Linked DNA regions of Homo sapiens: all the other regions are linked to region 1. The links are contacts of gene promoters, found by promoter capture Hi-C in blood cells and fetal thymus (Javierre and others, 2016). All regions are on one chromosome and are shown on one strand. Each heading gives the region's core, a stretch centred on a gene start or on the middle of the fragment in contact. The rest is flanking DNA. Distances are from core to core; before and after follow the strand shown.

Evidence for each region. The method cuts DNA at HindIII sites, captures the fragments that hold promoters and counts their contacts. A CHiCAGO score of 5 or more calls a contact.
Region 2: a contact is called between a fragment that was not itself captured here and the fragment with the promoter of RARA in region 1, in 1 of 17 cell types (monocytes). The highest score is 5.2, in monocytes.
Region 3: a contact is called between a fragment that was not itself captured here and the fragment with the promoter of RARA in region 1, in 1 of 17 cell types (total CD8 T cells). The highest score is 5.3, in total CD8 T cells.
Region 4: a fragment that was not itself captured here is called in contact with the fragment with the promoter of RARA in region 1 in 2 of 17 cell types (activated CD4 T cells and total CD8 T cells); the score reaches 6.1 in activated CD4 T cells.
Region 5: a fragment that was not itself captured here is called in contact with the fragment with the promoter of RARA in region 1 in 3 of 17 cell types (total CD8 T cells, activated CD4 T cells and naive CD8 T cells); the score reaches 6.3 in total CD8 T cells.

The regions. Positions count from the first base shown.
Region 1 is chr17:40,305,797-40,310,627 of GRCh38, reverse strand. It overlaps RARA (retinoic acid receptor alpha), which reads right to left and starts at 1,448. Exons shown (of 9, transcript NM_000964.4): 1 at 1,342-1,448. RefSeq lists enhancers at 252-1,135, 1,447-1,576, 1,587-1,756, 1,136-2,021. The HindIII fragment of the contact is 5,393 bases long and covers 648-4,831 here.
Region 2 is chr17:39,983,862-39,988,935 of GRCh38, reverse strand. PSMD3 (proteasome 26S subunit, non-ATPase 3) reads right to left here. Exons shown (of 12, transcript NM_002809.4): 2 at 4,452-4,642; 3 at 2,224-2,361; 4 at 117-253. LOC124904000 (a long non-coding RNA gene) reads left to right here. Exons shown (of 3, transcript XR_007065751.1): 2 at 41-342; 3 at 2,154-2,238. Among named protein-coding and RNA genes, the nearest start is that of PSMD3, 5.6 kb to the right of the region's middle. The HindIII fragment of the contact is 2,333 bases long and covers 1,788-4,120 here.
Region 3 is chr17:40,651,012-40,655,916 of GRCh38, reverse strand. KRT222 (keratin 222) reads left to right here. Exons shown (of 6, transcript NM_152349.3): 6 at 1-1,252. Among named protein-coding and RNA genes, the nearest start is that of SMARCE1, 5.6 kb to the right of the region's middle. The HindIII fragment of the contact is 2,860 bases long and covers 1,388-4,247 here.
Region 4 is chr17:40,629,719-40,634,155 of GRCh38, reverse strand. SMARCE1 (SWI/SNF related BAF chromatin remodeling complex subunit E1) reads left to right here. Exons shown (of 11, transcript NM_003079.5): 8 at 1,789-1,961; 9 at 2,463-2,564; 10 at 3,232-3,442. Among named protein-coding and RNA genes, the nearest start is that of SMARCE1, 16 kb to the left of the region's middle. The HindIII fragment of the contact is 6,923 bases long and covers 1-4,437 here.
Region 5 is chr17:40,588,713-40,593,624 of GRCh38, reverse strand. No RefSeq gene overlaps it. Among named protein-coding and RNA genes, the nearest start is that of CCR7, 26 kb to the right of the region's middle. RefSeq lists an enhancer at 3,804-4,912. The HindIII fragment of the contact is 1,338 bases long and covers 2,477-3,814 here.

The sequences.
Region 1 (4,831 bases), core at 199-2,698:
TCTCTACTTTCCTTGTTGGATCAAGACCAGAACGAAGTCTGAAGCCAATTCATTATCCACCCTGTCCTCTAAAACCAACCTTTAGGGGACCCGGGGAGCCATGGAAGAATGCAGAGCACACCCCACACCTAGACAGAGCTACCAGATGGGGACATGCCACCCATTCCTATCATACATTGATTGCTAGAGGAGTTCCCTCAGTGTGACCAGTCTCTTCTATCACCCCCCTCCCCAGTCTACTACCCCCAGAAGCAAGACACACACTCACACATGGTAAGTCAGACAAGGTGTACACCCTTCCTGTAAACCCACCAAACCAGAATGACACGCCCTAGATCTTCAGAGAGCAGGGCCTGTCTGCCCACCACAGGAGAGAAAAATAAGCCACTGTAAACAGTAGGTGCCATCTAGCCCTCTCCCAGAGAGCCTGTAGCGGGGCAGAAGCTTGGGGACCTTGTAGCTCTAGAGAAACACCAGGAGCCTGAGATTCTGAAAGCCAAGAAGCTCAGGGAGCTGGCAAGGCTGGGTGACCTCCTCAATCTGGTCCACACCCCCTTCCCTAGCCATCTGGACTGAGCCTGTTCTGGCCTGGGCCACACTCTGGTATCCCTCCCCTTCAATGCATGCAGCCACCTCTATCCAAAGCTTCTAGATCTTACAACCACATTGTCCCTACACACACACACACACAGGTGGGGTCGGGGGGCTTCTGCAGCAGGTGTTGAAATGTTGACATGGATGGGGGCTCTAAGCTGAAAGAACTTTCCTAGAGGAAAAGCTCACCAAAATGCTCACAACCTCCACTACCCTCTAGCAAAGCCTTTAGCCACCCAAGTGTGAGATGAACCTGGAAGGGGACATTAGTTCCCCTACAAGGTGTGTAGGGAGTAGGGGCAAAGTCCTGAGCTCTTTGGGTGAGGAAGCAAGAAAGAAATCCCTTGGGAAAGCTCAGGTCCCTCTCTGGCTCTCTCCTCTCTCTGTTACCTCAGCACTTGCCAATTCTCCAGTCTAGGTGAGGTGGGGGAAGGGGTATTAGGCAATACCGCAAAGGAGGGTGCAAGGGCGTGGGGCCTGGGCAGACCTTCCCCCTACTCCCCACTCTTATCTAGAGAACGGGAACTGCCTCAGGAGAAATGCAGGAAGGGTGCTGGAGGGTGCAGAGGGCTCTGAGCTTTCAGACACCCCACTGTTCCCAGGCTCCCACCTCCCAGGACTACAGTGAGCGACGGGAGAGGAGGGATGGGGAAAGCCAGAACTGGCGAGAAGGAAATGGCTAGATCAGAAGCAGAGGCCGGGGTCAAAGGCGGCCAAAGAATTGGGAAGGGGTGTGCATGGTCCTACCTGCTCAGGTGTGTGCTGGCAGGGGGCCGATGGGGTTCCCAGGAGAACCGGGGAAGCCCTCTCAGCTCGATTCAGGATTCCCCCCTGCTTCTGGGTTAGGCTGCTGCAAGAGGCACGGGTTCCCGTTGGGTCCTAAAGCCCACTCGCCAACTAGAAGGCTCTCCCCGCCCTCTTCCACCAGCCAGCCCCGACTGGGTCAGCGGGCGCAGAGCGAAGGACTGATGGGGGAGAAGTAACCCACTGGAAGAAAGATGGGCGTCTGGTCATCGGCTGGGGACAGGAACAGTTCCCTGTCTCAAATACACAGCATATGGATAACTCGAGGATAGGATGACCTGAAACAGGAGAAAATAGACATTTCTTCCTGCCTGCCCTGAGCAGATGGATTTAGGTTTTGGTGCTGGAGGTGGGGTTAAGATCTCTTTCCCTGCCACTCCTGCTAAGGCATTCAGCTAGAGATTTTGGAAAGGGAGCATTCATTTTGGTTGGGCGCTCACTTCTGTCCTCTTCCTCATGGACTGCAGGAGTCCCTTCATCCCTCCCAATTATTCCCAAGGACCTAGGAGGCCATAGAGGGTGAAAAAAGATTTTCAGCATGTAAAAAGTGCAGGCTCACTTAGATGGCAGCTGGAAACAGGGGAAACATGTAGGACCAATGTATGTGTATCTGGGAATGTGTGGGGTCTGCAAATACACATATATAGGCAAGAGTATAAACAGGTGGGGTTAGGGAAGGAGAAAAAAACAAAAAAGAACTTTGGGTTACACCTATTACTGGAAATGGTAATTGTCAGTGGAAGAACAGGACGTAGAACCTAGAGGTCAACTAGTGCCCCTACCCAGCCCTCAGTAATGTCCCGAATCTTTATGACCAGAATAAACAAGTTAAAGAGAGAATATTTTCCTAGATACCATTTAGGATAAATATAGGGGCAGAGGGACCTCAATACAACAGATCAACTTCAAGGTCACTGATTCAGTTTAGTATAGCCAGTCTTCTCAGTAGCTCAAAAGGGAGAATTCAGGTTTGGTGGGCTAGATGGGCAAGAGAAAGCTGGATAAGAATTCTGAAGTTGTGGATTGAGAACATTTTGCAAGGAGAGTTGCACATATCTCTAGCAGCAGAGCAGGGAAAACGTCATGAGGGGAAGGGCCAGAGGAAGTCAGCGACAGACTTGAGGGGAGAGGGCATGGCCTCTCCCTAGAAGGGGAGAAGACACCAGCAATGCCTCCACCTCTGTCTTGCAGGAAGAACTGAGTAAAGGAGCTGGACTAAGGATGGAAGGCCCCAGGGTGGAGTCCATGGGGTGAGTTTAGGTCAAACCTTTCACCCTAATGTGCCTCAGTTCTCTCCCAGCTGTTAAACAGGGCTCTTCGTTCTTCCCAGGCAGTTAATGAGTGTTTACAAAAGGGTTTGGAGATCCTCAGATCTCAGCTGGGCCACCACTACAGTTATAAAGTTCAATAAGAGCTGAGTGTTATTTGGGGAGGAGAGGAGTAGGGGAAGGAAACAGATACTCTCTTATAAACTAAGGATAAAACTAAGCTCAGAGAGAAGCACAAGCCTAGCTGCCACAGGATATCCTTGTGCCCATGGATGGAGGTCACCCCACCCCCCCATCAACCACCACCAAAGGCTGGCCTCCAGCTAGCTGTAGGCAGAACCCAGACTAGCAGCTGGTCTTCATTAACTCCAGCTTTTTCACCCCCCACTGTGAACCCACAGCTTCTACAGGCCTAGGCTAGAGGGGGCTGCCCTAGCCCGACCTTGCAGCTGACACTGGGGTGGGGGGCACCGCACCAAAGGCCAAGTTACCAGCTGAAAAGAAAGTTGAAGCAAGAGTCCTTTTTCCCATTGGGAGCAAGAAGAAAGCAGTGTGGGGGTGAGAGGGTGGAGGTGGGGGAATTTAGGGCAAACAGCAGGCAGTGAAGTCAGCTGGATTGAGGCCCAGAAACCCCCACACCCTGGGGCCAAGTCTTACTCTAGCTTTGCTTTCAGCTTAAGTCTTGGCGAGGCCCCAAACTAGGGAAGGCCCTGGTTGCCCCTTTCCGCCTCCCTACCCCCACCCTTATTAAATACACATTTTATCTCTCAGCATCTTCATTATCTTAACTGAAGGAGACAAGCAGTGGATGGCGGCAGCAGAGAGCGTCAGGAGCGGGGGGCGGTGCGGGGAGCAGGCGCACCCTTGTTATAAAGTGCTGATCTAGCTCTTTCAGGCAGTGTGGGAAACAGAGGAGGGATCAAAGGGAGTGAGGCTGATTCAGAACTCAATTAGAGCTTTTTAAAAAACGAAGCTGGCTCTCTCCTTTCACCAGTCTTCAGCCTTTACCCAAGCCCCTTGCACCCAATTAACTTCCACTACCAGTGCCTTGGGGCTGGGGTTGAAAATCAAGGGGAGGCCAGAGGGCACACCTTCTCCCCTTACGGAACACACCTCTTCTAAGAGGAAGACCTGCACTGTTTGTAGCTTAAGAGAAGGTATCTTAGAAAGTACCTTATCTTTTCAGGAAGAACCTGAGATCACAACTTGCCCCAAGTTAAAAAGAGGGACATCAAAGGTGGGCTCCTCCCTAAACCCTTGCCTACAGACCCAGCTTCTGGCCAATCTAGCCACACTGAGTGACATCCAGACAGGCAGCCCTCTTCACAGCCTGTAGATAAGACTCTTCCCCTCATAGCCAAAGCGTCCCACCAGCAACATGGAAGTTGCCTCAAGCAAAATGCCACTACATCAGAGGGAGTGATTGGAATGCATCTGTGAGGCTAATAAATGCTCCAAAACTGTGCCAAGACACATTTTGTAAGACAGAGCACCCTTCTTATGCAGGGGCCTGCTCCACCTCTGTGCAAAAGTACCACCAACGTTTACCTTCAGCTTAGAACTGTTCTCACCACTGAGGGAAAGGCAGTATCTTATTTGGTTCACTTATCTGTTAAACAACTATTGAGTACCTACCAGGTATTAGGCACTATACTAATTGCTAGGCACAGATACAAATGTAAATAAAATTTCAATCTTGGATCTCTTTTGTCCTCCCTCAGCAGTCAAGGTAACACGTCTCAAGATATTTAAAAAATATATAACCGGCCAGGCATGGTGGCTCAAGCCTCTAATCCCAGCACTTTGGGAGGCCGAGGCGGGCGGATCACGAGGTCAAGAGATCGAGATCATCCTGGCTAACACAGTGAAACCCCATCTTTACTAAAAATACAAAAAAATTAGCCGGGCATGGTGGCGGGTGCCTGTAATCCCAGCTACTCAGGATGAGGCAGGAGAATGGTGTGAACCCGGGAGGCGGAGCTTGCAGTGAACAGAGATCGCGCCACTGCTCCAGCCTGGGTGACAGAGCAAGACACCATCTAAAAAAAAAATATATATATATATATATATAAATAATATGTATATAATATATAATATGTATATTATATATAATATACATTATATATATAAAATATATATAATATGTATATAATATATATATAAAA
Region 2 (5,074 bases), core at 1,705-4,204, 320 kb after region 1:
TCTTCCCTGCTTACATCTACAGGTTCTTCGCCCTCTGCAGATCCACAGCTGTGTGCTTGTGACTGACCAAGTCTCTGACCCCACGGACCCCAAGTGAGATGCTTGGCTGCCTGTACCTGCGCACCACATCCAGCTTGTCCAGGAACTCATAGACCCGGGCGTGATAATAGTAACACTTTGCGGCTACAAGGTCTAGGGCCCGGCGGTTCTGAGTACTGATCTTCTGCATCAGATCATCAGAGATCTTCTGTGCCTGGGGAGGAAGCCAAAAGAGAATCAAGTGGCAGTTCCTCAAAAGGATAAACATGGAGTTGTCATTTGAGCCAGCAATTCCTATCCTAGGTATGCAAGCCAAGAGAACTGGAAACTTAGGCTCACATAAAAGCATGTACACGAATGTTCACAGAAGCATTATTCATAACCAAAGAGTAGAAACAACCCAGGTGCCCGTCAGCTGATGAACAGATAAACAAAATGTGGCACATCCACACGAGGGAATATTACTCAGCCTTAAAAAGGAAGGAAGTACTGACACACACTACAACATGGGTCAACCTTGAAAACATGATGCTAAGTGAAAAAAGCCAGAAACCAAGGGCACACGGTGTGTAATTCCATTTACATGAAATGTCCAGAGTAAGTAAATCCTCAATAGAGACAGGGCAGATTAGTAGCGGCCAGGGGCTGGGTAAGGGGAAAATGAAAAGTGACTACTAATACGTATGGTGTTTCTTTGTGGGGTGATGAAAATGTTCTGGAATTAGGGGTGGATATACAACTTTGGGAATATACTAAAACCCACTCAATTGTAGTATACTTTATTTATTTGTTTGACGGAGTCTCGCTCTGTCACCAGGCTGGAGTGCAGTGGCACAATCCCGGCTCACCACAACCTCCGCCTCCCTGGTTCAAGCAATTCCCCTGCCTCAGCCTTCTGAGTAGCTGGGTCTACAGGCACACACCACCACGCCCGGCTAATTTTTTGTATTTTTAGTAAAGACAGGGTTTCACCATGTTGGCCAGGATGGTCTTGATTGTCTGACCTCATGATCTGCCTGCCTTGGCCTCCCAAGGTGCTGGGATTACAGGCGTGAGCCACCATACCTGGCCTGTAGTACACTTTAAAGGGGTGAATTATATCTCAAAAACAAACAGCCAAGTACAGTGGCACGTGCCTGTAATCCCAGCTACATGAGAGGCTGAGGCGGGAGGACTACCTGAGCCCAGGAGTTCAAGACCAGCTTGGTTAACATAGCAAGACCCCATCTCCAGTAAAAACAAAACAGTGGGCCAGGCGCAGTGGCTCATGCCTGTAACCCTAACACTTTGGGAGGCTGAGCCCAGGAAATCACTTGAGCCCAGGGGTTGGAGACCAGCTTGGCAAGAAGGTGAAATCCTGTCTCTACAAAAAAAATGCAAAGATTAGCTGGGCGTGGTGGCACATGCCTGTAGTCCCAGCTACCCAAGAAGCTGAGGTGGAAGGATCACTTAAGCCGGGGAGGTCAAGTGAACTGTGATCACACCACTGCCCTCCAGCATGGGCAACAAAGCAAGACCCAATCTCAAAAAAACCCCCAACCAAACAACAACCAAAAATAGTGTGGTAAGGAAAGGAAACAAACCAGGGAATTAAGGAGTGCGACTTACTTCCTGAGTGTGCTCCTGTGACAGTGGCTATGATGAACAAAGAAGCTGGCCCTAGCTGGGGGAGTGGTAGAAGTGCAGTTTGCAAATGGAGCTATTAGTCCATAATAACAGCTACCATTTATGAAAATATCACGAAAGCTTACTATATGCAGATCATTGCGCTAAGTATTTCTAAACAAATTATTTTATGTAACGCTAACCATCTTGTAAGGTAGGCACTATTATCCCCATCTTACATATAGCTGGGAGAAATTAATTTGCCTAGGGTATGGCTGGGATTGGAACCCAGGTCTTTCTGTCTCCAAATGCCCCTACTTTTCCCCAAGAATGTACTACGCTGGTATCCCCCACAGACCGGTACAGCATGACCACTGCAAGCCCTGTCCCACAGTGCCCAGAGCAAGAGTGGGTTCTCCTGGGATGTGGGATCAAACGCATACCTCTATGGGGAAAGAGTGTGGGGGACAGTTCTTAAGAATCAATGATTATTTCCATTTCTTCACCAGGGACCATCTCCCCGCCAAACCCCTTGCATCACTTGGGGCTTATGAATCGCTCTCACTGCATCCTGGATACCTCTTTGTAGCGCTTGCTGTTCATCATGAAGATGACCACGAGGAGTTGGAGATAGGCTTCCACTTCAGGCAGGAGGGGTGTCGACGCAGCTTTTCCCGTGCGGGGACGGAACTGTAAATCAGCCTCTGTGTCCATGGGCTAGGAGAGGACAGAAGTTACCATGGAAAAGCTCAGTCTGATCAAGTAACCAAGAATTTATTGAGCATCCACTATGTATTTCAACATATTTATTGAGTGTCTACCATGTGCCAAGATTTTGTTAGGTGCTAGGGATAAAAAAATAAAGATTACAGTCTTTCCCAAAGAAATCAAGGAGGAGCTGGGTGTGGTGGCTCACGCCGGTAGTGCCAGCTACCTGGAAGGCTGAGGCAGGAGAATGCTTGAGGCCAGGAATTTGAGACCAGTCTGGGCAACACAGTGAGACCCCATCTCTCAAAAAATAAAAAAGAACTAGCCAGGCATGGTGGCATGCACCTGTATTCCCAGCTACTCAGGAGGCTGAGGCAGGAGGACTGCTTGATACCAGGAGTCTGAGCCTGCACTGGGCCATAAGTGTGCCACCGTGCTTCAGCCTGGGTGACAGAGCAAGACCCCATCTCAAAAAAACAAAACAAGTCAAGGAGGCTGGCAATATAATATTAATAAACACAATAAAGTGTTACAGGAGAACAAAAAATTTCTTTACACAACATAATGGAGACAAAGGACGATGTAAGGAACCTTCAAAGAGGCTACAACCTAAGTGGAGACATTAAACCACCACACCTGGATCCACTGCAAATACTACTGGACAGGGCTGAACGAAATAATTCTAGAGATGAAATCAGAATAATGAGACCAAAAAATGGTTTCTTGTGGGAACAAAGAAAATTTAGGGAAAGTCAACATATAAACAAAACATATTTTCCTATGTTGTCACTGACACTGGAAAAAATAATGTGTTACAGTCACCCCCAAAATAATCACGTTTCGTGAGTTTAGCGATGTGAAGGTCAGAAAATATTCAAGGTGGAGTTGGGGGAACAGTACGCTTTTCCCCTTTCCCAGACAAGAAACTCTTCACTGCCCTGCCTCCAGGGATGTTCTGAGTTTCCCCATCCACGGAGCTGACTGAGTATACAGGATTTTAAGGAAATGCAGGTGCTGGAAGGTCAGTGGAATTGGAGAAGGCTGAGACCTGGCCCATGCCATGAATCATGAGGGAGAGTTTACAGCTACAGAGGATAAGGAGAGGTCTCTCCTGGCACGGAGGCGCCACCACCACCACCAAACTGACTTCGTCTGCATTCACTACGTACCAGGCACTGCTCTAGGAGCTTTATACTGCCCGCTTCCCAATCCGTTCATCACGTTTAACAAATGAAGAAAACGAGGCACAGCAAAATGAAGTCACTCGCCCAAGTCCCACAGGTACTAACTGTCAGGGTTTGGATTCAAATTCAACTCTACCTCTAAAATCTGTGGGGTTTTTTTTGTTTTGTTTTGAGGTAGGGGGGTCACCCTGTCACCTAGGCTAGAGTGCAGTGGTGCAATCTTGGTTCACTGCAATCTCCACCTCCTGCATTCAAGTGATCCTCCTGCCTCAGCCTCCCGAGTAGCTGGGACTACAGGCAGGTGCCACCATGCCTGGCTAATTTTTGTACTTTTTGCAGAGACAGGGTCTCACCATGTCGCCCAGGCTGGTCTCAAACTCCTGGGCGGGCAGATTGTTTGAATCCAGGCTGGACTCAAACGATCTGCTCGCCTCAGCCTCCCAAAGTGCTGGGATGACGATGTTAGCCACTGTGCCCGCCTCAGCCTCCCAAAGTGCTGGGAAGACAGGTGTGAGCCACTGTGCCTGGCCCTGACAGCTGTGCTCCTCCTAACCACTGTTCTCTACCTCCTCCATGGTGAAGCTTCAGAAGAAAGAGGCAGCAGCACCTTCTCTCTCCTAGAACAACAGAGAGGTCACCCAACGCAACCTCAACTGGAGTAGGGGGTACAGGTTGCAGGGTAGTGGGAAATGAGTTTGGCTGGGAGGGTCCTGATCCCCTGACTTTGAAGAATGACACTACAGGGCAGTGGACGGTTCCCTTGTCACTGTGCAGATGAGTATTCAAATGGACTGCTTTGGCTTCTCTCCTCATGCTACCACAGGTAATAAGATGGGACTTTAGGATGGAAAACAATGCTGTTCCTGGGGATCTGAGGCCAGGCCTGCACCCTTTAAGTTGGCCTGACTCACTCACCTCTTCCAGGAAGGGGAGCAAAAAGTCTCGAGTGGCATTATTTGAAGTGAAGAAGCCCTGCACAGCCTTATACAGAACATAGTGGTTGAGGCGGCGTGATGTGGAAGGCAGCATCCGCAGGGCCCGCAGCACGAATCTCGGCTCCTTGCCTGAAACCGCTTTCTCTAGCTGTTTCACGTGCTCCTTGATGTCTGAAGAAGAGCAGAGAAGAAAATGATGTCACTTTCACTCCTAGTCCCCCACCACTCCAGGCAAGGAGTTCTTTTTTTTTTTTTTTTTTTTTTTGAGACGGAGTCTCACTCTGTCGCCCAGGCCGGAGTGCAGTGGTGTGATCTCGGCTCACTGCAAGCTCTGCCTGCTGGGTTCACACCATTCTCCTGCCTCAGCCTCCCGAGTAGCTGGGACTACAGGCACCCGCCACCACGCCTGGCTAAATTTTTTGTATTTTTAGTAGAGACGGGGTTTCACCGTGTTAGCCAGGATGGTCTCGATCTCCTGACCTCGTGATCTGCCCGCCTTGGCCTCCCAAAGTGCTGGGATTATAGGCGTGAGCCACCGTGCCGGCCAGGCAAGGAGTTCTAAGGAGCCTCTCACAGAGGGGCAAAATGCGACCACTCACCTTT
Region 3 (4,905 bases), core at 1,568-4,067, 340 kb before region 1:
AACAAGTTTTTAAAGGGGGACTCACTATTCACCTAATGAGGATTCTTCTTTTTGAGATAAATCATTTGTATACTGAGAAAAATGAGTTATTTTCCATGAGAAATTCTGAGCAAACTATAGAACACACCCCAGGGCTAATTTGAGATAAGTACAATTAAGTTAATCTACATATATCTAAAAGGTTTTTTTTGTAATAAGTATCTGATTTCCGGAAGATTTACTTTACTCAAGGAACTTTAAAGGTTGTATCCCCCACCAAAAAAAGAAAAAAAATCAGAAGGCCAACTGCGCAAACAAAACATGAAAAGCAAATTGAAAAGGTAGTTACTATAGTTATCAGAACAGTTACCCACCATCCCAGTTTTTCCAACTGTAAAGCTAAATGTGATTAGATTGTTTGCTATAAGCCGTAGATAAGATACTATATGAAGTATTATAAATATTTCTTGCAATCATTTATGTGAACTAAGATAACGGTATTGTTATCTAAGCTAAGAGTATTTAGAGGATTTGTTTTTAAATCGTTCAAATTGTAATAAATATGGGTAGAAAATATATTTGTGAATAAGTGAGGTATTGTTGCAAAGTTTTTAAAATAACCTAATTTGTTTAATACAGGTATATTTAAGATCTTAATAAATACCTGTTTTAAGACATTAGAAATTTATAAGTTCTTAATTCTTTTCTAAGCAGAAAAAGTAGCTGAGTACAACTCACCATACTTTTTCCCAGCTAAAGTATCATCTAAGGGCTATAGCTACGTTAGCATTTTAGTACAGCCTTTAAAATATTTCTCTCTCTCTCTCCTCTCTCTTCTCCTCTATCTCTCTCTCCATATATACTTATTATATATATACATATATATAATTTATATATATGTATATATATATTTCAACCAGAAAAATGTATGTTTTAACCAGGAAAATATTATGTTAAATAATCTTTAACATAATACAGGGATATAAAATTTTTAATTTTCTTTCAATTACTTCAGATTCCTTTTAGTCTGGTTTATTCTATTTAGTGAAAAGGGATGATTTTGTTTTGTCAAGGATATAACAGCATGTTAAGTGCTTATTCTTGCATAAGCATCTGACCTAAAATACATCCTATACATAAAAAATGTTTCATTTGATATTGCTAAATGCTACTAACTTTATTAAAGCTTTAAAAATGCAATCATATAAGCTATTGTACTAAAGTTACTGTACTAAGCAACAGTGATCATAATAAAGCAATATATCTAGCATAATCTATTGCAGTGTTAAAAAAAACTTAGTACTGGTCGTCATGAATGTAACTGCTTGTTGTAGCAATTCCAGTATGCATCTATTGGGTGTATAACATGTAGATTTTAAAATACAGTATTTGAATTTATAATGAAGCTTTATTTGCTTTGGGGCATTTTAAATTGGGATATGAATTTACCAAGGTAATGATTCCACTACAATTAAAAAAATGAAACATGGCCAGGCACGGTGGCTCATGCCTGTAATCCCAGCACTTTGGGAGGCCAACGTGGGAGGACTGCTTGAGCCCAGGAGTTCAAGGCCAGCCTGGGCAATATAGCAAGACCCCATCTCTCTAAAAAGTAAAAATAAATAAAAATTAAAAATTGAAAAAATTGAAATATGAATGCTAAAGCTGCATTGTATGTGAGTTTGAACGCAGTCCTTTTAGTTCAAAAATATCTCTGCATGGTTAAGTGAAACAAAGAACTAATTACTCCAGTATGGTTAGTTCATTTGGGGAATAAAGAAAACTGCAATCACAGTAGATAGATAATGGTTTTTAACTTGTTTTACAAAAGAGTTAAGAATGGTATATCAATATTTTATTCTAGTTTTTTAAAAATCAAAATAATCACATAATCCCATAGTTCTGGAAAAAGTTTAATAATGGCAGCACCATTTGCAAAGCACTTACTCAGCTCTAGGCACTGTGTTTATCCCTAATAATCCCTAATCCTTCCTTACAACAATCCTACAAAATGAATAATATTATCCTTGCTTTACACATGAGTAGAAATTAATATTCTTTAATCTCTCTGAAATGTTTCAAATGCATGCTTCCATAAAAAAATACAAAAATAAAGAGTAATTCCAGTTACTAACAATTGTAGGATCCTAACCCTGGCTCTGTCACTAACCATGTAACCAGGAGGGGCCACTTTAAGTTCCTAGGCCTCAAGTTTTACACTTGAAAACAAAGGAAAAGGTAAAGCTGGATAATAATTCCTACTCTACCTACCTTACAGTTGTTTGAAATAATATACAAGCAAAAATATTTGTTAAAGCACTGCTCAGATATACAGTACTATTTGGAAGAAAATTGTCTTTAAAGAATGTGTGGGGGAAATTACAGCGGACAATGATTAATAGTTCAAAACACAACAGGTAAAGATACTATTTTTAATTTTTCAATTGCTTCCAGAACAGTTATTCTTTCCCAGTGAGTCACCCAATTTGAACTGTTCTGTCATGATAGCTTTTAAAGTACAAAAAATGTTCTCTATGCCAAGCACAGTGTCTAAAGTATAAAAATGTTCTCTATGCCAGGCACAGTGGCTCACACCTATAATCCCAACACTTTGAGAGGCCTAGGCAGAAGGATTGCTAGAGCTCAGGAGTTCAAGCCCAGCCTGGGCAATACAGTGAGGCCTCGTCTCTATTAAAAAATTTTAAATTAACCGAATATGGTGACACACCAGTAGTCCCAACTATTCAGGATGCTGAAGTGGAAGAATTGTTTGAGCCCAGGAGGTGGAAGATACAGTGAGCCAAGATCATGCCACCGAACTCCAGCCTGGGTGACAGAGTGAGACCCTGTGTCTCAAAAAAAAAAAAAAATAGTTCTCTAAAGATAATAAGTGATTATTATTTTGAGCCACTAAATTTTGGGATAATTTGTTATGCAGAAATATACAACTAATACTGCACATAAGCATATTTCTTATTCATTTGCTAGAGATCTTTGTATTGGCAAAGTTCAGTTTGTCCTTCAATTTGTTTTCTTACGTTTTTAGAATTTTTTAAAAATCTGTTGGCCGGGCATGGTGGCTCACACCTGTAATCTCAACACTTAGGGAGGCTGAGGCAGGAGGATCGCTTGAGCCCAGGAGTTTGAGACCAGCCTGGGCAACACAGTGAGCCCTCGTCTTTACCAAAAAAAAAAAAAATCAAAAACTTAACCCAGTGTGGTAGTGTGCACCTGTAGTCTGAGCTACTCAGGAAGCTGAGGTGGGAGAATTGCCTGAACCCAGGAGGTCAAGACTGCAGTGAGCCTAGATTGCACCACTGCACTCCAGCTTTAGGCAACAGAGTGAGACCCTGTCTCAAAAATAAAAAATCTCTGAAGTCAAAAAATGCTTACATTAATTTGAAAGTTTCCATTGGAAATGTATTATGATACATGAGCCAAAATTAAATTTTAGTTAAACAATATGCATACACGTTACTCAAATTATCAACACATGAAATCAAAGGAAAGTTTGTCCACAGGGCAGAATTTGGTTCTATGTTTACAAGTTATGGCCGGCATGTACACACAGATTGCCAATATTTGTGGGCATATGACAAATAAAGGCTCTAAAATAAGGTATATGTGAAAATCAGTACAAGGCTTTCCAAGTTTCCCTCACATGCTTAGACTCTAGACCAGGCTTGGCAACCTTTTCCATCGAAGCCCAGAGAGCAAATATTTTAGGCTTTTCAGGCCATAGGATCCCTGTAACAACTACACAACCCTTCCCTTGTAACCACAAGCAACCAAAGACAATACGTAAATAAATGAAGGTGCTTGTGTCCAAATAAGGGTTTATTACAAAAACAGGAGGCAGCCCAGATAACGGCCTGCAACAATCTCGTTTGGCTACTGTGCCCTAGACTCCCAATATTATCAGTGGATAATAGACCCCACAACCCAGATTCTCCAGCTCTACCCTGTTTTCAACGTTCATCCTTTTCCACACCATGGGGCAACACTCATGTCCCAAATCCTCCAGGTTATTTTGAGGGCAACATAGAGGGTTCTCAAAGCAAACCGTGCTTTTTAAATTCTGTAAAACAGTGTGGATCACTCTGTCCTGGAAAGCTGCTAAACTTCAATATTTCACAACTATTTCCAGCTACAGAAAACAGAATACCCATAACTCCTTCTGCTCTCACAGAAACAGCTGAGAAAATTAGTTTGTTTCATCATGTTGTCTATAATCAGACTTTCATAGGCTATTTGGGTCAAGTAAAGCTTTGCTCTCGCTTTCCCTTGTTTAAGAAAAAAAAAATCCATTATAAAAGCTTCAAAAGAACATACTACAAACTCCATGGCTCAGTGGTTGGTTCATAATCTTTCTTGAGTCACGCACCTCTTTGAAAATCTCATGAAAGAATTAACCTATCAGGAAAAAAGCCCATAAAAATTGAGTATAATTTTAAAGGGTTCATAGATCACTTAGAGCCTATTCATGGACTACTGGGTGTCCAAGGACTTCAGGTTTTTCCTTATTCTGTCTTATTTTCTCCTTTTTTCTCCTTTCTTCCCAGTCCTACCCCTAACTCTGTCTCCATCACCCGTTTCTTCCCACAGAACAATGGAAAGAACTCAAAGACACCTGGACTAGAACCTTAGCTTACTTAGTTTTGGCTTCCCTGTCTTGGGGAAAGAAGAACCCCAAAAAAGTATGAGTAGTGTCAGAGGGGAAAGCAGGCCACGTTTCTGGATCTTGCTGCCAGAATGAAAACTAAGGCCTAAGTTAGGTCTTAATTGGGCCTAAGATTATCTCTGGGGTTAACCACTGGTCCCACGTGAGTGCTCCCAACTACCCTTATAGTTATATTTAGTTTAAATAGTCATATTGATGCTGTATCCCAAATTTTCTGGGAATAATCACAACTCCAAACATCTGTC
Region 4 (4,437 bases), core at 1,639-4,138, 320 kb before region 1:
CCAGTCTCAAAAAAAAGAAAAAAAAAAGAGGGCATGTGCAATTATCCACACAAGACAATGAAGGCTTTTATTCAGTGAGAGCCTCTTCATCATAGGATAAATAGCTGTTCAATTAGATCATAACCAGAGAAGCCATTCCCCCAAAAAAGGAAGCAGACGACTAACATGCAAAGAAGAACAAGCCCAAATTGCTTAGACCTTATGTCCCCATCTGTGGTCAACACTGGGGCCATATAAATGAAAGAAGAAAACAAAAGCTAACAACAAAAACAGATAACTTAGACAGATGTAGCACAGATGTACCATATATAACCCTAAAGGTGAAAAACTCTTAAAAAGTAGAAAGGTTACAGAGTTTTAAAAAAACTGTATCTTACCCAGTAGTTTTAATTTCAGAAGTTTATTTCCTAAAGAAATTACTCAAAAGGAAACAAAAGTAATTTTTTTAACTTTTTACAAAAACAACAGTTTTTAGCTGTAGTATTTATAATAATGAGAATTTTAGGAACTACTTAAGTGCCAGACAATAAGGGAGGTGCTAAACTGACATAGCAGCGCAACATAGGCCTCTGTAACAGGGTTTCCCCTGTAACAAGGTTTTCTTAAGTGTGGTTCCTCCCTGTCTGGTGGGTCACTGAGGTGATTAAGTGGTTCAGAGAGGAGCGTTTGTTTTAATATGTATTACTAAAGAGAAAGCTCTTTTTTTTTTTAAGTGAGTTAGTTTAAAGAAAAATATTAAGTAAACGATAGTACAGGCTGTTAGTAGATATATGAAAAACTATGAAGGTGATAGAGCAAAGACTGAGATTAAGGAAACACTAGATAGCTATTAAAAATAAGCCTGTAGTGTGTGTGCAGTGGCTCACACCTGTAATCCCAGCGCTTTGGGAGGCCAGGATGGGCAGATCACATGGGGTCAGGAGTTCAAGACCACCCTAGCCAACATGGTGAAATCCCATCTCTACTAAAAATACAAAAATTGGCCGGGCGTGGTGTCATGCGCCTGTAATTCCTGCTACTTGGGAGGCCGAGGCACAAGAATCACTTGAACCTGGCAGGTGGAGGTTGCAGTGAGCTGAGACTGGGCCACTGTACTCCAGCCTGGGTAACAAGAGGGAGATTCTGTCTCAAAACGAAACAGAAGCATATAAACCAGACCCATACTGTATGAACTTGGGTCATACCATTACACACTGACAACAGCTGGCTAAGTGTAAACTGACAAAAATTAAATTTGGAATCAGACATTTATTTTTCTTCTATAAAATTACTTGAGGGCCTGGGAAACTGAATATTGTTAGAGGTGATGTATTCTCTGCTGTCATAATTTTACAAATGGGCATTTTCATTCATTTTTAAAGTGCTACAAGTGACAAAGTCACTGCCCAGTTCATATGTTGTTCATTAGTTGTTAAATGCCTTAAGTTACTACCAAGAGAGTGAAACATTGGGCAGAATTTCAATTACTGCCATCACATACAGCCTTCACATTGATTCCGAAGCCAGAAGAGACATGTTGTATCTCGTTTATGTTTTAGCCAAATCCTTCTCAGACACAACATTATCACTTAAAGACTGTGAGATAAATTACTACCTTGGCCAATGAACACATTACGTCCTCTGTATGGTTTTTATCAAGTAACTGCCCCAGTGCTCCCATGACGCTGGGCAGGTCCACTTGTTAGGCCAGTGAGGGCCATAGTTCGTTGGTAATTAAGTGTTAACATTGTTACACTCCTTTTTATGGTTACTGGTGACCTGATTTCCAGAACAATTTGTTCACTCCAGATTATGATGATGGCTTTTCAATGAAGCATACAGCCACCGCCCGTTTCCAGAGAAACCACCGCCTCATCAGTGAAATTCTTAGTGAGAGTGTGGTGCCAGACGTTCGGTCAGTTGTCACAACAGCTAGAATGCAGGTCCTCAAACGGCAGGTCCAGTCCTTAATGGTTCATCAGGTAAAGTCATAAAACATTCATTTCAATAAGATGTGCCTATACCACAAATCCCAGGTGATATGATTCCTACACCATGCCTAAATCTACCTGTTAAATATGTCAATCTAACCTGTTCCTGATTTGGAGAAGAGGTTTAAGGAAGTGGACCTTTCCCAGATGTTTAATAAGTTTGTCATTAAAAACTATAATATAGAACCTTGTAATGGAAAGTATATTCGTTAAGAAATACGTGTGAACTTAAGAATTTTGAGGCATCCTATCAATCTTTACTGCTATGCTAAATATTTTTTCCCAAGGAATTGCTCAGGCCTGAAACAGTATTCTTTAACATTTACCTATTGATCATAATCATTTCTTTGTGCTGCATTTTGTATTTTTTAAATCTTAGCTAGACTCATGTGATAAATGATCTAAAGTTCAAAACATTATTTGGTACACTGTTTGAAAGTATGGACCATTAAAAAATGAGACACAATTATGAAGCCTGATCCTGTCTTGCAGCGAAAACTAGAAGCTGAACTTCTTCAAATAGAGGAACGACACCAGGAGAAGAAGAGGAAATTCCTGGAAAGCACAGATTCATTTAACAATGAACTTAAAAGGGTATCTGTTTAATATGTTAACTATACTTTTATCACTATACCTGTTACTTTATTTTTCCTCATTCTTTTTTCCAAAATAGTGTTTTTATTGAATGTTGTTCACTTTGAAACAGGGCTAACTTTATTATAAACCTGTAGGATCCTTTTTTTATAAGATTGTTCCCATTCTCTGGCAAAATTGCAATAAATTTGAAATATCATAGAGTATACACATATCTTCTAGGCCTGTAAATGCTAGAGCCCTCTGATATGTTAAACTCCCATACAGTCATTAATTACTTTCATTTTATTGTGATTTATTCATCAAATGTCGTCATTAAATGTAATTTATAATTTGCACTTTGCATTCAGACAAGGAAATCTAGTTGGTAGCCCAAAATGTAAAACGGAAGCCTTATGTATACCCCAGAACTTTCACTATTTTGCCTCACCAGCTGCTCTGGAATATCCTATATTATACAACTGCTAGAGCTGCTGTTTTTTCTTGTAGACCCAAGAGTTTCAGAGAAGACCTAGAACCACATTTTTTTGGCACACACACACACACATACAGGTGTATAGATATATATATATAGTTTATAGGCAAGAAAACCAACTTTTGAAAGAATATATCTGGCTCAAAAATTATAAGGAAAAAACATTACGGAGTTCTGTTTTTTTCTGATTAGTTGTGCGGTCTGAAAGTAGAAGTGGATATGGAGAAAATTGCAGCTGAGATTGCACAGGCAGAGGAACAGGCCCGCAAAAGGCAGGAGGAAAGGGAGAAGGAGGCCGCAGAGCAAGCTGAGCGCAGTCAGAGCAGCATCGTTCCTGAGGAAGAACAAGCAGCTAACAAAGGCGAGGAGAAGAAAGACGACGAGAACATTCCGATGGAGACAGGTAACCCACTAGCAACAAACGCAGAGGCAGTGCCAAGACTTTGTACGGCTGTCTTTAATTTAGGTTTTTCTTTCTAAGTGCAAGTATTCTGGTACCTGCCACTGAGGGTGATTCCCAGTACTAAATTTGACATGATATTGACATTCAGTATTTTAACCTTTAAATGCTTACATTATTTATCAAGATGTGGTTATTACCGTTAAGATTAATTGTCTTTGGTGTCCTAGGACAGCATTCTGCAAAGTAATACCTGTAAGCCAATCCTGCCCACCACTTGTTTTTGTAAATAAAACTGGAACACAGCCACACTTGTTTGTTTACATACTGTCTGTGGCTGCTTTGGGGATAAAACAGTATAGTTGAGTAGTTGCAACAACAACTGCCTGGCCTGCGAAGTCTAAAATATTTTCTATCTGGCTCTTTACAGAAAAAAATTGCCAGCTCTGTCCTAGAAAAACCCTTACTTCTAGGTATACTGATTTTCCTGATTAAAAGCATCCCTCAAGGTAAAAAATAATAATAATAACTTGTATAAATAAAACTTACATAAAGTACTGATTACATTGATCGTCACTTGTAATTTTGAGATCACCTTACCTCATGGCACTGTTTTAACACTGCCTAGTACACTGTGTAAACAGGACTAAGCTAAAAGTAGTTATGGAAAACAAAACCAAAGGCTTCCTGGAGCATCGTTGCAAGAAGTGGGAGGGACAGTAGTCATACTTGGTACTCAGATGACAACCATCTGGAAAACATGTAATGGAATATAGATATCTTTACCAGGTATTTCTGCAAAATTTAATCCAGCAGATTAACATTTGAAATGGTCATATTTTAAGTTTCAGTATCTGAGTCTCTTTCTGTTTTGTATGAATGTGTTTTTTATTGTAATGAATTTGGAGCATGAGCACATTTTTGTGGTTAAAACGAGCTTGAAAATTAAAATAACTGATTTTTGCTAATTTTGCAACTAGACAAACACTCAGTCCTTT
Region 5 (4,912 bases), core at 1,896-4,395, 280 kb before region 1:
GAGTGCAGTGGTATGATCTCGGCTCACTGCAGCCTCTGCCTCCCAGTTCAAGTGATTCTCCTGCCTCAGCCTCCTGAGTAGCTGGGTTTACAGGCACACATCACACGCCTGGCTAATTTTTGTATTTTTAGTAGAGACTGGGTTTCACCATGTTGGCCAGGCTGGTCTCGAAATCTTGACTTTGAGTGATCGCCCTCCTTGGGCTCCCAAAGTGCTGGGATTACAAGCATGAGCCACTGAGCCCAGCCAAATCCCCCTATAAGTGTTTAAATGGCCCATCAGATAACAGAAATGTACCTGAAGTTTTTATTGTCTTCCAAGAATTATGGGTTTGACAAATCAAATATTGATCATAAACTATTTTAGCAATTCATAACAGTCACCACACCAATATATATATATTTTTAATTTGGATCATTTTATCTGTTTTATGATAAGTCTTGAAATTCAGAGCTTCTAATAATGGGAACTTGAAGGACTCAGGAAGGACCAGGAAGCCTTCCAGGTTCTCCATGAGTCTATGCTTATACTGGACTTACATCTTAAATACCAATTTTGTTTCTCCAATTTAGGTGCATAGCACTGTTTATTAGATGGTTTTCATGGGTAATTTGACTTGGACCAGGGAGTTCATTTAAATTATATATCTAAATAATTTTAGTGCTAGCTGATTTTAGCATGAAAATCTGTCAAAGTATTTTTTTGGTTGTCAATTAATTCTTGCCCTACTTGGGTTAGCAGTTTTATAAATCAGTCAGTCCTTTTATTAGAGTTCTGGGAATTCTTAGCCAGTCCAAATGATAGGATCCTAAACCTGTATTCAAGAGTGCTTGTCAGAGTCCTTTCCATCATTGTATGAACCTCTTTGAAGACACATTACTCTAGGATTTTGCTTGCTTGTGAAGAGTTTTCAGAAACTGCATCTAAATGCAGGAATTAACTGTGGAAATGATTTAAAATGGTCATAAAGATACAATTGACAAGGACATTTGGTTATTTTTGTGGCCTAAAATTATGTAACATAACCATAGTTATAATTGATAGCATATATCCAGACATATCAGAATTTTAGGAATCCCATACAATTTTGGAACATATATTAATAAAATATTTATAAAAATACAACTTGAAGAAGATTAAACATTATTTCTTATTTGACAGTGCTTCCTGTAATTTAATATATCACGTAATCTTACTTATCTCTCTTTTGGATGCTGCAGGAGCCCTCTGTAGCATTCCAAATGTACAGGTAAACAACAAAAAAAAACAAACCACTTAATTTTGAAGTTGAAATTTGATTTTCAGGAAGCCTGTCAAGTATGTCAAAAGATTCAGACAATTGACCAAAATAGGATCACAGGTCACCATAAAAAAAAATCATTCATTTAGCCAAAGTGATAAGAGATTTTTAAAAGCAAAAACCTTTACTCTTTGATAAGAGAGGAGACTCAATCTTTTTTTTTTTTTTTTGAGACGGGGTTTCACTCTTGTTACCCACCCAGGCTGGAGTGCAATGGCGTGATCTCAGCTCACTGCAACCTCCGCCTCTCAGGTTCAAGTGATTATCCTGCCTCAACCTCCCAAGTAGCTGGGATTACAGGCATATGCCACCATGCCTGGCTAATTTTTGTGTTTTTAGTAGAGACGGGATTTCACTATGTCGGCCAAGCTGGTCTCGAACTCCTGACCTCAAGTGATCCACCCACTTCGGCCTCCCAAAGTGCTGGGATTACAGGCATGAGCCACCGCGCCCGGCCTTGGATCCTACTTCTGACAGCATCTGTTAAAAGAGAAACTGGCCGGGCGCAGTGGCTCAAAGTGTAATCCCAACACTTTGGGGGGCCGAGGCGGGTGGATCACCTGAGGTCAGGAGTTCGAGACCAGCCTGGCCAACATGGTGAAAGCCCATCTCTACTAAAAATACAAAAATTAGCCAGGCATGGTGGCATATGCCTGTAATCCCAGCTACTTGGGATGCTGAGGCAGGAGAATCACTTGAACCCGGGAGGCGGAGGCTGCAGTGAGCTGAGGTCGTGCCATTGCACTCCAGCCTGGGCAACAAGAGTGAAACTCCATCTAAAAAAAAAAGAAGAAGAAGAAAGAAAAACCTTAGACAAATTAAATTTAACAGTTTGAGCAATGAACGGTTTGCAAATCAGGAAGCCTCTTGAGCCAGAGTAGGCTCAGAGAGACTCTAGCATGGCCATGGGGTAGAAGAAGGTTTATGGACAGAAAATGGAAAGTGACCTACAGAAAATGGAAGTGAGGCATAGAAACAGCAGGATTGTTTATCTTAGCATTGCCTTATTTGAACATAGTCTGTACAGTTGGCAACCTTGGTTGGCCAAAACTCAGTGACTTGCACAGGAGTAGGTTACAGTCTGTTCACACATCCAGTTAAGTTGTAGTTCACTATGTATGGAGAAACCTTTAGGCTGGACTTAGAATATGTAAGAAGGCAGATTTAGGCTAAGCTTAATTTAACAGGGCTTTCAGTGGTTGTGAAGTTGCATTCCTGCTTATCAACTAGTGTGGTATGGGGGAAAGAGGATGGATGGGGGAGTTCCATTCCTGGTTTGCTGCAACTAGCTATGAGCGTCCTTTGGGGAAGTTCTTAACTTCTCTGAGTCTCCATTTTCTTATCTGTAGAATGGACATCACAGCTGCTTAACTTGCAGGGTTGTTGTGAGATTAAATGAGGTGATTCAGGGTCTGGTATACAGTAGGTGCTGAATAAGTATTAGCTCCAGTTAATCCTCAAACAGTATGTAAGAGCGTTGACATTGGTGGCCTGCCTATCACTCTGGGAGCTCCCTGAATCCTGGGCTGTGGTGCCTTGCGCAGCCTGAGAACTTCCCCACAGCAAGGACCTCATGAGCATTACATGAAAGCTAAGACTGATACTGAAATTTGAGGATCCCCTTGATCAACCTAGCCAATGATTTTTCCCTACCTAAGCACACAAGGGAAAAAGAAATAAAGAAGGTAGAATATAAAAATCCTTGCAAATTTCCAAAAGCTGAAATTTACACCCCTTGCAATATTTCCATTTACTATCAGTTTCTGTCTAACCCAGGCAGACATAAAAGGCCTCTAACTGGATCTAAACCAATTAATTATCAGATCCAACTCAACTCAAAGAGTGGCCACTATTTTATGCACTCTGAGTGTAGCCTGTTTGGGGTCAAATCAACAGAAATATCCTTCATTTTAACTTAGCACTCTTTGGCTGAGCACCAAGAATATGCCAGGTACTGTGTTAAATATGTAAGAAATAAATAAGATGCCACGTAATGGTAAGCTGATAGAGGGAGAAAAATGCATGCATGCCCATGATACAAATTTGACTAAGAGGTGCTATCCTAGCAGTGTGAACAGCATTTGTGGGTTCAGGGACTTCAAGAATTCTTCAGGAGGTGAGAGTATTTGAGCTGGGTCTTGAATAATGAGTTAGAGTGTGACACGGGAGAGAAGGAGCTGGAGCCACCTTAGCCTGACAGAAGAGCATGTGGAAAATCCCAGAAAAATGAAAGTGCACAATGCTTTTAGGGAACCCACAGGTCACTCGGAATGGCTGGAGCACAAAGTAGCTACAGTGGGGGAGTAGAGAGATTGAGGTCAGTGATGTCAACTGGGCCAGATAGAGAAGGGCTTTGAATGCCATTAAAAGCACAAGAGGAGGATGAAATAGATATGGTCTCCTTAAACAGTTGTATGGGGAGGAACAGGAGGGTTTCAGGACTCCACCTTTCACCCATCTTTTCTTTCTGACCAAAGCTCTACTGGGATTTCCTAAATGTGCATAACCTAAGCTTCTCTGAGGCCACAGTCCCACTAGGAGATGATCAATGGAATCCCCAAATGTGAGACCAGAGAGGACAGACAAGATCATCTGGTTCAATCCCCAGATAAGGAACCAGGAGAAAAGGGCCTCATGGAAATTTGGCTGGCAGAGCCAAGACTGGAACCCCACACACGTTTTCACTGCAACAGATGGTCTCAGGATCAATGAGCATCAAGATACCTGGGCTTTCTAATCATGTTTAAAATGGACAATTTCAATCCAAGTGGGAATCATGGCGGATGGGAGGCAGGACTAGATTGCAGCTCTGGACAGAGCAGCCATGTGGAGGTTTGCATTGTGAATTTTAGCTCCAGATCAACTGCAAGAACAAACCAGCCACCCTGAGAGGACCCACAAACCCTCTGAAGGAAGCGGACTGCTCCTGCAAGACCCAGGAGACAACCCAAATACTCTGGGAGGTAAAAAGCCTCAGGCAAGTTTTCAAGCCCATCTCGCCCTTCACCTGGAAACAGACTCGGTGCTGTAGGGGGAGGCACGGTGGGAGTGAGCACTTGGGTTTGCATGGGACCTGGGTGAGGCCTGTGACTGCTGGCTTTCCCCCACTTCCCTGACAACCTGCATGACTCAGCAGAGGCAGCCATAATCCTCCTAGGTACATAACTCTAGTGACCTGGGAATGTCACCCTCATCCCCTACAGCAGCCACAGCAAGACCCACCCAAGGAGAGTCTGAGCTCAGACATGCCTAGCCTCTCCCCCACCCAATGGTTCTTCCCTGTCCACCCTGGTAGTTAATGGAAGACAAAAGACATATAATCTTGGAAGTTATAGGGCCCCGCCTACCGCCAGTCCCTCTCCACACTACTACAGTTGATGCTTTCTGGAAAGTGCCACCTCCTAGCAGGAGGCCAACCAGCACAAAAATAGAGCATTAAACCACCAAAGCTAAGAACCCTCATGGAGTCCATTGCACAGCCTGCCACCTCCACCAGAACAGGTACTGGTATCCACGGCTGAGAGACCCAGAGACAGTTCACATCACAGGACTCTGTGCAGAAATCCCCAGTACCAGCCCAGAGCCAGGTAGACTTGCTGAGTGGCTAGACCC